Linked DNA regions of Homo sapiens: regions 1, 3 and 4 are each linked to region 2. The links are contacts of gene promoters, found by promoter capture Hi-C in blood cells and fetal thymus (Javierre and others, 2016). All regions are on one chromosome and are shown on one strand. Each heading gives the region's core, a stretch centred on a gene start or on the middle of the fragment in contact. The rest is flanking DNA. Distances are from core to core; before and after follow the strand shown. Region 1 overlaps LOC112268462 (a long non-coding RNA gene). Region 2 holds the start of TMEM128 (transmembrane protein 128). Region 3 overlaps STX18 (syntaxin 18). Region 4 overlaps NSG1 (neuronal vesicle trafficking associated 1).

Evidence for each region. The method cuts DNA at HindIII sites, captures the fragments that hold promoters and counts their contacts. A CHiCAGO score of 5 or more calls a contact.
Region 1: a contact is called between a fragment that was not itself captured here and the fragment with the promoter of TMEM128 in region 2, in 2 of 17 cell types (total CD8 T cells and naive CD8 T cells). The highest score is 6.1, in total CD8 T cells.
Region 3: a contact is called between a fragment that was not itself captured here and the fragment with the promoter of TMEM128 in region 2, in 4 of 17 cell types (naive CD8 T cells, total CD4 T cells, total CD8 T cells and 1 more). The highest score is 7.4, in naive CD8 T cells.
Region 4: a contact is called between a fragment that was not itself captured here and the fragment with the promoter of TMEM128 in region 2, in 4 of 17 cell types (naive CD8 T cells, total CD8 T cells, naive CD4 T cells and 1 more). The highest score is 7.0, in naive CD8 T cells.

What each region holds. Positions count from the first base shown.
Region 1 is chr4:4,381,702-4,384,905 of GRCh38, forward strand. LOC112268462 (a long non-coding RNA gene) reads left to right here. Exons shown (of 3, transcript XR_007058004.1): 3 at 2,821-2,908. Among named protein-coding and RNA genes, the nearest start is that of NSG1, 3.8 kb to the right of the region's middle. The HindIII fragment of the contact is 1,934 bases long and covers 713-2,646 here.
Region 2 is chr4:4,246,193-4,249,559 of GRCh38, forward strand. It overlaps TMEM128 (transmembrane protein 128), which reads right to left and starts at 2,031. Exons shown (of 5, transcript NM_001297551.2): 1 at 1,914-2,031; 2 at 10-151. The coding sequence starts at 2,010. RefSeq lists enhancers at 1,373-1,999, 2,302-2,411. The HindIII fragment of the contact is 7,732 bases long and covers 1-3,367 here.
Region 3 is chr4:4,460,790-4,464,150 of GRCh38, forward strand. The region is part of intron 2 of STX18 (syntaxin 18); the gene reads right to left. Among named protein-coding and RNA genes, the nearest start is that of STX18-IT1, 19 kb to the right of the region's middle. The HindIII fragment of the contact is 943 bases long and covers 1,282-2,224 here.
Region 4 is chr4:4,416,675-4,419,875 of GRCh38, forward strand. NSG1 (neuronal vesicle trafficking associated 1) reads left to right here. Exons shown (of 5, transcript NM_014392.5): 5 at 561-2,384. The coding sequence ends at 761. STX18 (syntaxin 18) reads right to left here. Exons shown (of 11, transcript NM_016930.4): 11 at 2,294-3,201. Among named protein-coding and RNA genes, the nearest start is that of NSG1, 31 kb to the left of the region's middle. The HindIII fragment of the contact is 545 bases long and covers 1,680-2,224 here.

The DNA of each region.
Region 1 (3,204 bases), core at 430-2,929, 140 kb after region 2:
ATAATAACATTTGGGGTTTTCCAGAAATGGGTATTTTGCAGTAAGGTGAACTCTAAGAAGAGAGCATCACAACGATGTCATGGGCAAACCTGCCTTCGGTTTTAATTAGACCATGAATTTTCTTTTCTTTCTTTCTTTTTTTTTTTTTTTTTTGTTCTTGTTCTGTTGCTGAGGCTGGAGAGCAGGGTGCAATCACAGCTCACTGCAGCCTTAAACTCCTGGGCTCAAGCGATCCTCCCACCTCAGCCTCCTGAGTAGCTGGGGTCACAGGTTTGTGCTACCACACCTGGCTAATTCTCTCTTCCCTCCCTCCCTCCCTTCCTTCCTTTCTTTCTTTTTCTTTTTTTTTTTTTTTTATGGGGGTCCACTTTGTTGTCCAGGTGGTTCTCAGACTCCTGGGCTCAAGGGTTCTTTCCACTTCAGCCTCCCAAAGTGCTGTGATTAAAGGGATGAGCCACCAGGCCTGACCTGACTTTCTTACTATGCACTTGAATTCGAATTTACACCTCTGATGTTCATGTCTTACTTTACTGTGAATGTAAGCTAAGTGGATGCCTATTCAATTAAGCAAACATTTCCTGATTACCAGGCCATGCTCTAGACAGGGGGGATATGGAAATGAAAGATTAAGTGGTTCTGCCTGATTTGCTCATGATCTATATAGAAATGTAAATACCCAGACTCCGGGATAGAGGAGCATAAAGAAAGGCCAAGCTTCAAAGAGGAGGCAACATTGGATCTGGGCTTTGGAGGATGAGGAGCAGTTTGCAAAATCGATGAGGAGTGGGGAAGGCAATCTAGGCAAGAGAAGCAGCATTTGCAAAGGCCTGGAGGCAGGCACTTGGGGGAATGGAGAATTTGGCTACAGGACAGGGTTTAAGGAGAAACAGGGATGACTTCACCCAGGTGGGCTGATTCTTCACATTGCAAATGGATTGTCCCATTTGCAGAAAGATCCAGAGCCTAATGTCTCTCCCGATTCTGTGTCAGTGTGCCGGCTGATCCCAGTGTGCCGGCTGGTCCCAGCGTGCCGGCTGGTCCCGTGGATTGAGAAGTGGACCCAAGAAACTTAAAACCATCAGAGATGAGGATGTGTGCAGGGAGTGACTGTTGTGGGATGCAGGTTTCTTTACGGGGTGATGAAAATGTTCTGAAATTAGTGGTGATGATTGTACAACCTTGTAAATATACTAAAACCAGTTAAGCGTATACTTTAAACTGGTGATATCTGTGGCATGTGAATTACATCTCAATCTAAAAACAAGACATTTGGATGAAGCATCGCTGGATCGACGTGGCCAGGCTGCAGAAAAACAGAGCAGAACCTCTGCTGATCACCTGCCACTGAACCTCCATAGGCTGACAGCACTGGGTGGCCACCCTCCCAGCAGGACCTCATCCATCCTGGAGATCTGGCTGGCTGTGGGAGGCCTGACTAGATCCTGCAACCCATCCCAGCTCTGCAGGGAAGCCTGTGGCCGGGGACTCATCATTTGACTTCTGTGACCTGCAAAGAGGCTCATGAGGCCTCTAGGGGAAGAGTCACCTTAGTCACTCTGAACACTTGTCACATAACCAGGAAAAGTGTCTATCACCTCGCCCTGGCTCCAGCACCGGCTGCTAAGAATAGAGACCACAGGAGTACAGAATTAGAGGTCAAAGCAATAGTAATACCTAAAACAGGCACTTAAAAAAATAAGAATAGCTCATTTGATTCTCACAACACTGCTCTGATGGAGGTTTCATTATCTCCATTTATAGATGGGGAAACTGAAGCATAGAAAGGTTAAGCAGCTTGCCTGAAGTCACACTGCTAGGAAGAGAGGGACAGGATTCAAAATCGGGCCACGGCTTAGCCACTGTGTCACATTGTCTCTTGCTGTGACAGTCTGGACTTCAACCAGTGGGACAAGGGAAGTTGCTAAAACGCTTGGACCTGGAAGTACCAGGGTCATTAGAGAGCAGCGCCTGGCTGCCCTGAGGAGAGGGAGCAGGGTAGGAGTTACAATCGTACAGGCAGTGATGGGTCTGTGCCTGAGATCAGCAACCCTGGAAGTATTCCTAAAAGAGTCATTTAGGGCCAGGTGCAGTGGCTCACTCCTGTAATTCCAACACTTTGGGAGGCTGAAGCAGGTGGATCACGAGGTCAGGAGATCAGGACCATCCTTACCAATATGGTGAAACTCCGTCTCTACTAAAAATACAAAAATTAGCTGGGAGTGGTGGCACGTGCCTGTAATCCCAGCTACTCAGGAAGCTGAGGCAGGAGAATCACTTGCACCAGGGAGGCGGAGGTTGCAGTAAGCTGAGATCACGGCACTGCACTCCAGCCTGGCGACGGAGCAAGACTCCGTCCCAAAAAAAAAAAAAAAAAAAGAGTCATTTAGAAAAACTGAGTATGTGTCAACAATCTTCTGTGGCACTTGGATTTTAAATTGTTGGTGCTGGGATGAAACTGGTCCAGGGGGAGATCGCATCCCATTGATTTTCCCTTTTTGTATGTTGTGAAAATACCTGACATCTGTTTGACCTGCAACCACCATTGCAGCCTCAGCCATCCCCATTTTGGTGGCTGTGGCTTCTTCAACCTAATTTCTGCCACCCTCTGTGAATGACTTGGGTTCTCCAAATCACCACACCCTTGCAAGCTTAATGCCTGTAGTGAGCTGAATGGCGACCCTTAAAAGATATGTCCACATGCTAACCCCGGGAACCTGATTTACCTTACATAGTAAAAGAGTGAACATTATCTTATATGGCAAAGATAGGATTAAGTTAAGGATTTTGAGAGGGAGACCTTATCCTGGATTATCCCAGCAGGCCCTAAATCCTATGATGAGTGTCCTTATAAGAGACACAGAGAAGAGGAGGAGGCAATATGACTGGAGTGACATGAAGGCAGAGATTGGAGTGATGCAGCCACAGTCAAAGAATGTCTGGAGCCACTGGAAGCTGGAGGGGGAAAGAACAGGTTCTTCTCTGTGGCTTGTAGAGGGAGTGAGGCCCTGCTGGGACCTAGACTTTAGACTTCTGGCCTCCAAAGCCAGGAGAGAACATGTTTCTATTGTTTTAAGCCAAATTTGTTCCAACAGTGGCAGGAAGCTCATATACTGTCTTAACACATTCTGTTCTCCTACCTGGAATGCCTTCCCCTCTGCACGCACCTCTCTCAGGCCCACCTGTAGGAAGCTTTATCCACAGTCT
Region 2 (3,367 bases), core at 781-3,280:
TTTTCTTACCTGCTAGTGTGGAAGTTTTCTTTAAGGGTTTTAAAGAAGTCAACATAATAGGTCACAACAATGGATGCCAAAATCCAGAATCCAGAATGGATATTAAGTCTTGGAAGAGGTTTCTCCTTTTTCTCAACAGCTGTGGAGGTTTCTGCAAATAAGGGAGATTTCAACTTATTAAGTTACCACAATTTTGCGAGGAAAAATTACACTTAAGCCAAATAAAATCATTTCCTAGAGCTAAGAAACAGTCTCTCCCATGATAACAAATCCTTCTGTAAAACCCTTGAGATAGGTTTATATTTACAAAAAATAAGAGCCCACTATAAAATATGGTCAATACAGTCAATTTATTTCCTCTAAATACATTGTGAAATCAAATTTACACTTTCATCGTCTTTCGGAAATAACAATGTCACCTGGAAATGTAAGAATTTTAATATTATGTTTCACATTTCTTCTAGGAAAGTAATTAGTCTTGTTAATTAGGAAAAATGCCAAAGGCAAACATTAGCGCATGAACTGGACTTGTGGTCTTCCAAGAACACTTTTATAACTAAATTTTTTTTTTTTGAGTCGGAGTCTTCCTCTGTCGCCCGGGTTGGAGTGGAATGGTTTGATCTCGGCTCACTGCAACCACCGCCTCCCGGGTTCAAGCAATTCTCCTGCCTCAGCCTCCCGAGTACCTGGGATTACAGGCGCCTGCCACCACGCCGGGCTAATTTTTGTATTTTTAGTAGAGACGGGGTTTCACCATCTTGGCCAGGCTGCTCTATTTGGCCAGGTTGGTCTCGAACTCCTGACCTCGTGATCAGCCCGCCTCAGCCTCTCAAAGTGCTGGGATTACAGGCGTGAGCTACCCTGCCCAGCCTATAACTAAATATTTTAGTTACTTTAAACACAGCTCAAAAGTGGAAACGGCACACCAGAGCTCTAGTTCCAGCACAGCACTGTCTAGACAGGTGATGGACAAGACATTTTTCCTGTCTGGAACGCAATCTGAAAGAATGGGTGGATGGGGGTTGGGTCAGATGGATGATTTCTATTAAGTTTTCCGGGGATTCTGACATGCCCTCTAGGTTCACGTGAGAATCAATGGTCCACATCTGAGGTTTTGGGCCTTTAGATGACCATCGGAAACCCTGGGAAGCATGTTCGTAATATTCTGGGATATCCTCAAAATGTATACATCATCATGCCTGGGCATGAGGTTATTCGTGTTTTTAATTTTAAAAGGTAATAAATGGACGTGGTTTTAAAACATATGAGATAAAAAATATCCAAAATGAAGTATCTGTCTCCCATCCTTAACCTCAGATCTAATCCCCAGAAGCAACCACCACTTACAATTTCTACTGAATTCTTCCATATTCTATGCATTCACAGGTGAACATACATCACAAGTTACCTGTTTTGTACCCAAATGGCGGCATACCATAGTGTTCCACACTTCCCTTTGAAAATCATCCCCATTGGTACATACGAGTCGACCTGATGTGTCAGGTATACATATACCCAAATTTACTTAAACAGCTTTCTGCTGACGGGCAAGGCAGATATTTCCAGTAATTCGCTATTACAAGCAATCCTGAAGTGAAACACTGCGCACATCATTGTACACTGCGGTACACGCATGTTTCTGGTAAATCCTTAAGACTTAAAACTGGTGGGTATTTTTAATTTTAATCGCTATTTCCAAATAGGTGTCAAATCAGCTCTCCAGAGAATTCTGAAGCGCAGCTGAAATGACGATGCACAGCACTCCGCGATTCTAAGGATCTTCCCTGACATTAAATATTCGACTTGCAAAGCCGAAACTCAGTCCTTCCAGACTGGGCCAGGGCTGCCGGAGGCCGGCCGTTTTCCGACGCCTCGCCTCTGAGAACCTCGGGGCGGCTTGGTGCGCGCCTCACCCGGCCCGGCGTCACCCTCGCGGTCCAGCTGGGCCTCGGCGTCCGGCAGGAGGAGGAATCGCCGCCGGAGCTGCTGCCGGGCCCGCGAGGAGTCCATCTTGGTACCGCCCCGAAATGCGACGGAAGTGACGTCAGACACAGCGCTTCCGGCGTCCGCTCCGGGTCTGGACCTCCTGGCGTTTGGATTGGAGACTGTGTTCTCTTCGCTGTTTAGTTAGCGAGCAGCTAGGGTGGAGTCGGCCTCAAAGGTTCCGCTCTCATGTCGGCAAGTGTGATTTGAATTTTAAAACACTGAGCTTTGCCGGTGGAAGAGTTCCCAAGTTTATTCCGACCTACGGAAGCCCAGGAGGACCAGGATTACCGCTGCCGCTGGATGCGTCCAGGGCCGGGATGCGCGACCGTGAGACGCTGCGCTTCCGAAGCCCTCGCAGGCTTCCGGGTGCCAGAGCAGGAGACATACCCTCTGTCCAGCCTTCCACTCTCAGCCCCCAGTTTTTTTCCTACTTTTGCTTTTCAGGAGTCGTCCAGCAAGACTTGAAAGGAGGAGAAAGGCCTGCTGGACAGGATGCTAGAGCCTGGCAGTGACCACTTGGGGGCCCTGGGCATTAAATAAACTTCTTGGGGCCCGTTTCGTTATTACACTTGGCTCTAGATTTGTTGTGCGTTTCAGTGAGAAGTACCTGTATGTGGTTCATGTGAGCCTCCTCCTCGCCACTTGTGAAAAATCCTCCCAGCCTGAACCGAGGGAACTAAATTGCTTTCCCAGCAAACTGCGGTTTTCCACACTGCTCACGCCCACAAACTGTGTGTTACGAGTTCACAACTTTTTCTTCGTCAATAATCCCGCGTATTACTCTCCCAGCCGTTTCCCAGCGTGTCATGTGCTGAGAAATGGTGGGCTTAGCCACGCAAACGTTTACTGAGCATCTACTATTTGGTAGGAGCTGTTAGGCACCATGCTAGCAGTGGAGATAAAGATGAGTAAGACATGGCCTTGCACGTGAGGAGCTCCTTGTCCAAAGAAAACCACAGAGGTATATTACAAGAAAACTCTATTTGTAAATGTATGAAAGCATTTCATCAATGCAGCCAACATTTTCTGAGCAGCTGCATGTGATAAAATGGTGAGGACAGAAGAATCTAGTAGAGGAAGCAGCTTCAATACAGTGCCATAATAAAAACACTGTACATGGGGCATAATAGAAACACTGTACATATAAAGGGCAGTTTATTCTGCTGCAGTGTGGGAGAGCAGGGAGAGTGGTTTCAGGTGAGTTGAATACAGGGGTGGAGAGCCAGCTACATAGGAAGTAAAATTTGAATTAGTAGGCACTGTTTAATATCTTCGATGTGTTGGGGTGTTTGTAAAAGGAATGTAATAAGAAATACTCAAGAAAAGAGTGCCAGCCGCGCGCGGTGGCTCACGCCTGTAATCCCAACACTTTGCGAGGCCG
Region 3 (3,361 bases), core at 503-3,002, 210 kb after region 2:
TCTGTCCGAGGGAAGACCCAACAGTGAGACAAAGGCGCTAAGCCAGCAAGCTCGATCCCCTCTCCCCAACCCCAGCCCACCTCCAACACCAGATGAATGGCTCCCCTCTGGGGAGGAGCCAGAGTGGCAAGCAGAGGGGCCAAAGCCTTAGGTTCATCCCTACTAGGAACCTTCTCATCGGAAATAGAGGCTAACGGGGTCAGGGACAAATGAGTCAGAAAGGTACCAACTCAGTGAATATGTACCCTGCAGACAGAACAGACCTAGAAATGACTAGTTCCAAGAACATTCGATTAACATCCTCCTACTCTATATTTTGATTTAATGGAAACTCAGCTCAGTGAAATTGAAAAGGTCTAAAGGTTAATTTGATAAAACTGATTATTTAATTAAAAGGTAATGTTCCTTTAGGAAACATTATATATATACATTAACCTTCTAAATTGAAAATTGACAGTATGGTTATTCTATTAGTAAGAACAACAGAAACCAAGGAAGTTTTTTCTCCCAGATTGTTTTGTTGCCAGGATATTGTGGAAAAAGTCCATCTACCAGAAGTGGAGACATTATTTTTAATTAAAATCATTCAGAGATCTAGCCACAGGCTATCTAGGTTACATGCTGTTCTGCTCTAGTAAAATGTCATTATTAAAAAAAAATTAAATGGGTCAATAAAGTCTGAGCTCTACATTCTGGAAAAAATTACAGCTTCCTAATTATGTCAAACTAACAAAGCCTCATAGGTCTGAAGGCAGTATTTCTACACATATTCTTTCAATTCCATGATCATACTCCACATAAAATGTTCCTAGGAGCAGGCCAAGGCTAGCACATTGCACTGGGAGGGCAGAAGAGTAAAAAAGAAAGGCTTTAAGCAGTCTACCACCTTTGGGAGGGAGAACTTGATGAGAGACAATAAGGGTGGTCTTTCTCCACCTGGACAGAACCTGGGCTACCGGGGGGAATGCTTATTCCCTAATCCTCATGTTTCTGTGGGAACCAACTTCCCCAAATGACACCTTGCCTCCTCCCAGAGCCTCCTCCCTCTGGCCCCCTCGCAGAAAGCATGGGGTGTGCATATAGTCACCACACCTTTCTCTCCTCTCTTTTACCTACTTAGAGACAGCAGAGGTTCCGCTCTGTTCCTCTCTCTCCTATGTTGCAAAGGGGCCTGTCCCTGCTGTCTGTGCTCCAGGGGCTGCGGCTGCGCAGTGGCACTAATGCCTGAGTGTGTCTAATTCAAGAGCAGAGTATCAACAAGGCCACCCGCCTGCAAACCAAAGCTTTGTTTGCTGACCTAGATTTTACCAATGATAAAGCTGATATGACACGTGGGTCTCCACTGTGTTGATCTGACTCCTGCCTCCATTTCTTTCTTTCTCCCTCCTCCCAGCTCTCTGGCAGGAAACAGAGGTGGGTTTTGTCTTGTTCAATAACCAACACCCTCCAACCCCCTGCAACTGCAGCATAGGTCAAATGGGGTTCCAATTCAATTATCATTCACCAGGAGACTTCTATGTGTCAGGAACTCTCATACCCACCTAATTTAATCCTCACGAGAACATCATCCACATTTTATAAAAAAGAAAACTAGCACAAAGGCAAGTTATATTCATTCACATGATAAATACATGGCAGGATTGGGACTGGAACTTAGGTGTGACTGACCCCAAAGCCCATGCTCTTTCACAGGGACCAAAACAGGGGGTGGAGTAGAATTCAGTGTGCATGAGTTGGCAATGAACAACTGGCCTCGGGAAAATGAGTAAAAGATAAAAGACTGAGTTTCTAGCTGGGTATCATGTCATATGCCTATAGTCCCAACTACTCAGGAGGCTGAGGCAGGAGGATCACTTGAGCTCAGGATTTTGAAGCTAACCTGGACAACATAGCAAAACCACCTTAAAAAAAAAAAAAAGACTGAGTTTCTAGAATGAGGCGATGTACCTAACAAAATGAAGAATGCCTCGGGGACAACAGTTCTATCTTCTGAAGTTATCTGCCCTTAAGTGGCAGAGCTGGCACTGGCCCCTAGGGAACCCAATCCTCAGTCCTAGCATTTGCTGCCCTTGTAGCTGGGAAAGGGGAAGGCTTAGGCCCTTCTTTACTGTACTAAGATGAGAATCCATGCTGCAGTAGTCTGGGAACACTGAAAAACAGTGTGCAGGAGCCTCCTTTTGCTGTTTGAGTATAATAACTGCCTTAACATCACTATTACATCGAAAGCTTAAAACAACTGCAAAGTTGCAGAAGAACACCCGGATGCCACTGTGTTGTTCTTTTCACATTGCATTTGAATCATACTGTCTGCTTTGAACCTCTCAACTGCTTCCTGAGTGAGTATCCCTCCCACTGTTGGCTTTGCAAATTTTTTCTGAAAAGGGCCAGAGAGTAAACATGTTAGACTTTGTGGGCCTTGTAGCCCATCACAGCTACTCAACTCTGCTGTTGTAGCATAAAAACAGCCCTAGACAATATGTAAACAAATGAACGTGGCTGTGTGCCAATAAAACTTTATTATGGGCACTGAAACTTGAATTTCACATAATGTTCACATGTGATAAAATATCCTTATTACTTTTTCCCCAACATTAAAATATGTAACTACATTTAAAAGTATATTTAAAATGTAGATTTGGCCTGTGGCTGTTATTTGCTGACCTGTAGCATTAGAGGAAGACACTGAGTTTCACAGATTCACATGGTTCGTAAGGAGTGGTGTGAATCAAACCAACACTCTAAGCATTTACTTTGCTGGATTTCTTTTCAAGGAAAAGGGAAGTTAATAAGTGATTTGTATGAAAGATATTTACAACCACCTCGTCAACCTAACTTGTCAGATACTAAAGAAAGAAGCTACAAATTGAGAGCTTTATACAAGTTTTGTAAAGTTTTACAAAATCACTGTAGCTTCCATTTTTTACAGCCTATCAAATCAGTATTTGATACACATACACACCTTTAGAAATAAAATTGACACTGCGATCTAGTGTTAACCAACTATTTTTAACTCAGAGCTTAAAAATAAGGTTTTCTTGGTACTATGCATCGGAATAATTATTTTAGTATATTCCAAAATAATGCAAATGAAGTGCATTTAAAAGCATAAAATTGCCTATGGATGTTAAGTGCAAGTAGACAAAGCATCAAGGATTATTTAAAATTCAACTAGGGTATAATTATTTTTCTCTATTGGAGAATTTATAAGAAGTATTTCCATTTTTGCATATATTGACAAAGTTAAAAAAAAGCAGGATTTATTTTATATTCTCTATCTTTGTGACAGGAATGCTTCTGAAAGGCAACCACCCCTCGTTTTATAAAGATGAAATCCTAAAAAGATGCTCCTAATGATGTTATC
Region 4 (3,201 bases), core at 702-3,201, 170 kb after region 2:
CCCTCCCTACCCCCTCGCCATCTTCCCAGCCCCTAGTCATGACCACCTAGTGGCTCTGTGTGCCTCTTCTGACTCCCGCCCCAAGGCCCCTCTCTGCTCTGGTTTCCTTTGCCTTGAGTGCTGCCCCTCCCTCATCTCACCTAGCTAAGGTCTGCTGAGAACCTAGCTCAAGGGAAGCTCTTCTCACTTCCCTTCCGTCCTCATTTGAATTGGTTGTTTTGGGATATTTCATAAGTTGTTGTTTTCCAATTGATTAAAAATGACAACTAGTGCAAGATCTTCAGTGAAGTAAGGCCTGCTGTCCCATTACACTGGCACCCTTGGAGCCCAAGTGCCCATCTGCCATGGCACTCACCAGCCAGTCTATTAAGAATAATCAAGGCCAGGCTTCCCCTGTGCTGTGCTCTCTCAGGGCAAGATCCATGCCCGTTTTTGCTCATCACTGTATCTATTCCTCCAAGCTCAGGGAAGGTGCTCAGTAACTGTTGGCTGCCAACTGGAGACACACTGGCACCCCCTCTTGCACCGACGCGTGCTCTCAGTGGCCTCTTGTCTTTCAGAACACCCAGTGCATCCCAGAAGGCTTGGAGAGCTACTACGCGGAGCAAGACTCCAGTGCCCGGGAGAAATTTTACACAGTCATAAACCACTACAACCTGGCCAAGCAGAGCATCACGCGCTCCGTATCGCCCTGGATGTCAGTTCTGTCAGAAGAGAAGCTGTCCGAGCAGGAGACTGAAGCGGCTGAGAAGTCAGCTTAGCGGGATGGGCAAGTTCCTTACAATGTGTCACTTGCAAATAACAAAGGGACTTTGAGGGACATTTCATTAAATATAATTACTGATACTTTAGAGGTTACTCATTTACGGTGCAATTGCTTCTGTTTGCTAATGCTGCTTTGCAAATAAAACTTGCTGCCGACCACCCACGGGCATAAAATCAAGTGCATTTCAGCATTGCCTAAAGAGCTCTGACACCACTTTTCATGTTAAGATCTTCATTTAGCTCCTTTACTGGGATTTATTGGATGCTGTAAAAAAATAAATTTACACTGGATATGCGAAGGGTTTGGATCTCAGATAAATGCATTTTGTGGAATTGATTTTCTGAACCGACCCTGCTGTCTGCAAACCTTCCTCCATAGCCATATCTAGAGTGATCTCTCGCTGTGCTAAGAGCAAGCCTACTTCGCATTTCTTCCTCGGCCATCAGCGGGTAACAGTGCTGACTGCTGCCAAGGTGCACTGTAGTAAGTAAGTGGCATAGAGAACGAGGAAAAAGACCCCCCCACCCCTCCCTGTGCTGACTCCTGAGTCGGGGTGGGACGGCCCTGCAATGTGGCAGGCTCGGTGTGGATTGACTACTCCCTCCCCTCTGACTCTGGCATCTTGGTAAGGAGGGAGGGGCACCACCCATCTGGGTGGAGACAGCTGGGGTTTGCTCCAGTGTGTGTAGACTGGCAGAGCATGTGAGGGAGAGGGCTGGGAAGAGACGGCCCTGGGCCCGTGAGGTGCAGAACTCTCCCTGCAGGTAGTCTGTCTGCTCTGTGATGTGCTGATAGGAAAGAGCCCCCACTGGCCCTCTGGTTCACTTCTATTATGAATAAATTTGCACCAATAGCCCCATTAGTTTTTAAAGAAATGAGCTGGGTGGGAAAAGTGGAAATGTAATTTCTGGTAAGCTTGAGCTACTTTAATTTTTATTCTATGAAACTGATATCCCTTGATGTGGGAAACAGGCAGGAAAGGCTGTGGGGTGGGGGTGGGGGACTGGTGTGGCACCGTGCAAACAAAATGACAAATTTCAACTCACAATCTTTGTAAGAAAATTGTTCCAGTTTGAATCTTGATATTAAAGTTTATGTTTACAAAACTGCCAGTTAGATGAACTAAGTGTGTAAAACAAATAGAAAAGACATTCGCAGACATTTCTTCTATGTTATTGAATGTGTTGTTTCTGGTGTACGTGTCAAAAGTTTCAGTTTTTTAGATCAGAAATAAACGACAAATAGTGTGAGATGTGTTGTGAACAGGCATGGTGACCGTGGTCAGCGCCACTCTTGTTTCCTGAAATGTGCTTCTAAGACAGAAAATGTATTTTCTCATCAAGGGTGTCTGGAGACACAGACCGTGACCTTGGCGCAGCGGTGTGCATCAGAGGCGTGTGCTGAGAAGGGTGGTGTTAAGCTGTGGAAAATGACTCAAGAGCAATAAATCAGTGCCAAAGCTTCCCTGCGCATCTGAATAGACACAAGTGAAGCCCGTGTGCGCACAGTGCAGAGGCCGAGCCTGTATTTCCAGGTAGACGTGGACTTTATTGACTGTGAATTCATTTACATGTAACTTCTGACATTTCACTCTGTGCAAATAAAGAACATGAGGATACCTGTGCTGCCCAGTGGACTGTCTGTACACACACGCATTTCACCAGGCGCAGTGCAGACTGTCTCATGCCCATGTGGGCGCTGGGATGCTTCCTGTACAGATGTCTCATGCCTTCAGTTACACATAGGTGTTCCTGTTTACAGTTCCTGGAGGTCAGAAGCACAGGCACGAGAGAAGCAGGCCCGTTCTTCCGTGGCCCACTTCTTCCTTTGAACAAAGGCTCCTTGGACCCAGTGGCGGGAAACTGGCCCTCCCACACCCCCTGCCTGTTCTGGGGGCAGCAGTCTTTGGAGGAGTAATGCCAGGCAGCCCCTCACTGAGGGCCCCAGTCTCCCCTGCATTTCTTCCCTGATTGATTGATAGGAGGTGGCTGGGCTGCCACTGAATTTGTCAACTTAGACTCATTGACAACACATTAAGGGGCTGTAATTATATTTATTAGATTAACAAGGCAGATGTGAATTTTCTCTTCTATAATCCAGTAAGTCTGTGTATTCGTTGACTCAGACAGACAAGAAGCCACAAGGAAACAAAGAAGTAATCATTTGTTGAGAGACGTTATTAACTATGATCTTCCCTGAAGCTACCGGGATGGGAAAGGTCAGTGTCTTCCTTTGAACCCTGAGACAATTAGGGGCTCTTGAGGCCTGCTGTGCCCCTGCTGCCAAGGCAGCCTCAAGTTCAAGGAGCAGCTAATCACCCACTCCTGCATTCAGTCTGTCTTGCCTGATGAGGGCTACGCAGGCTGCCTCCCATTGGTGTGCACTGTTTCCTTTTTCAGCTGCTAAATGGCTGAACACCATCGGCCTGGGGTATC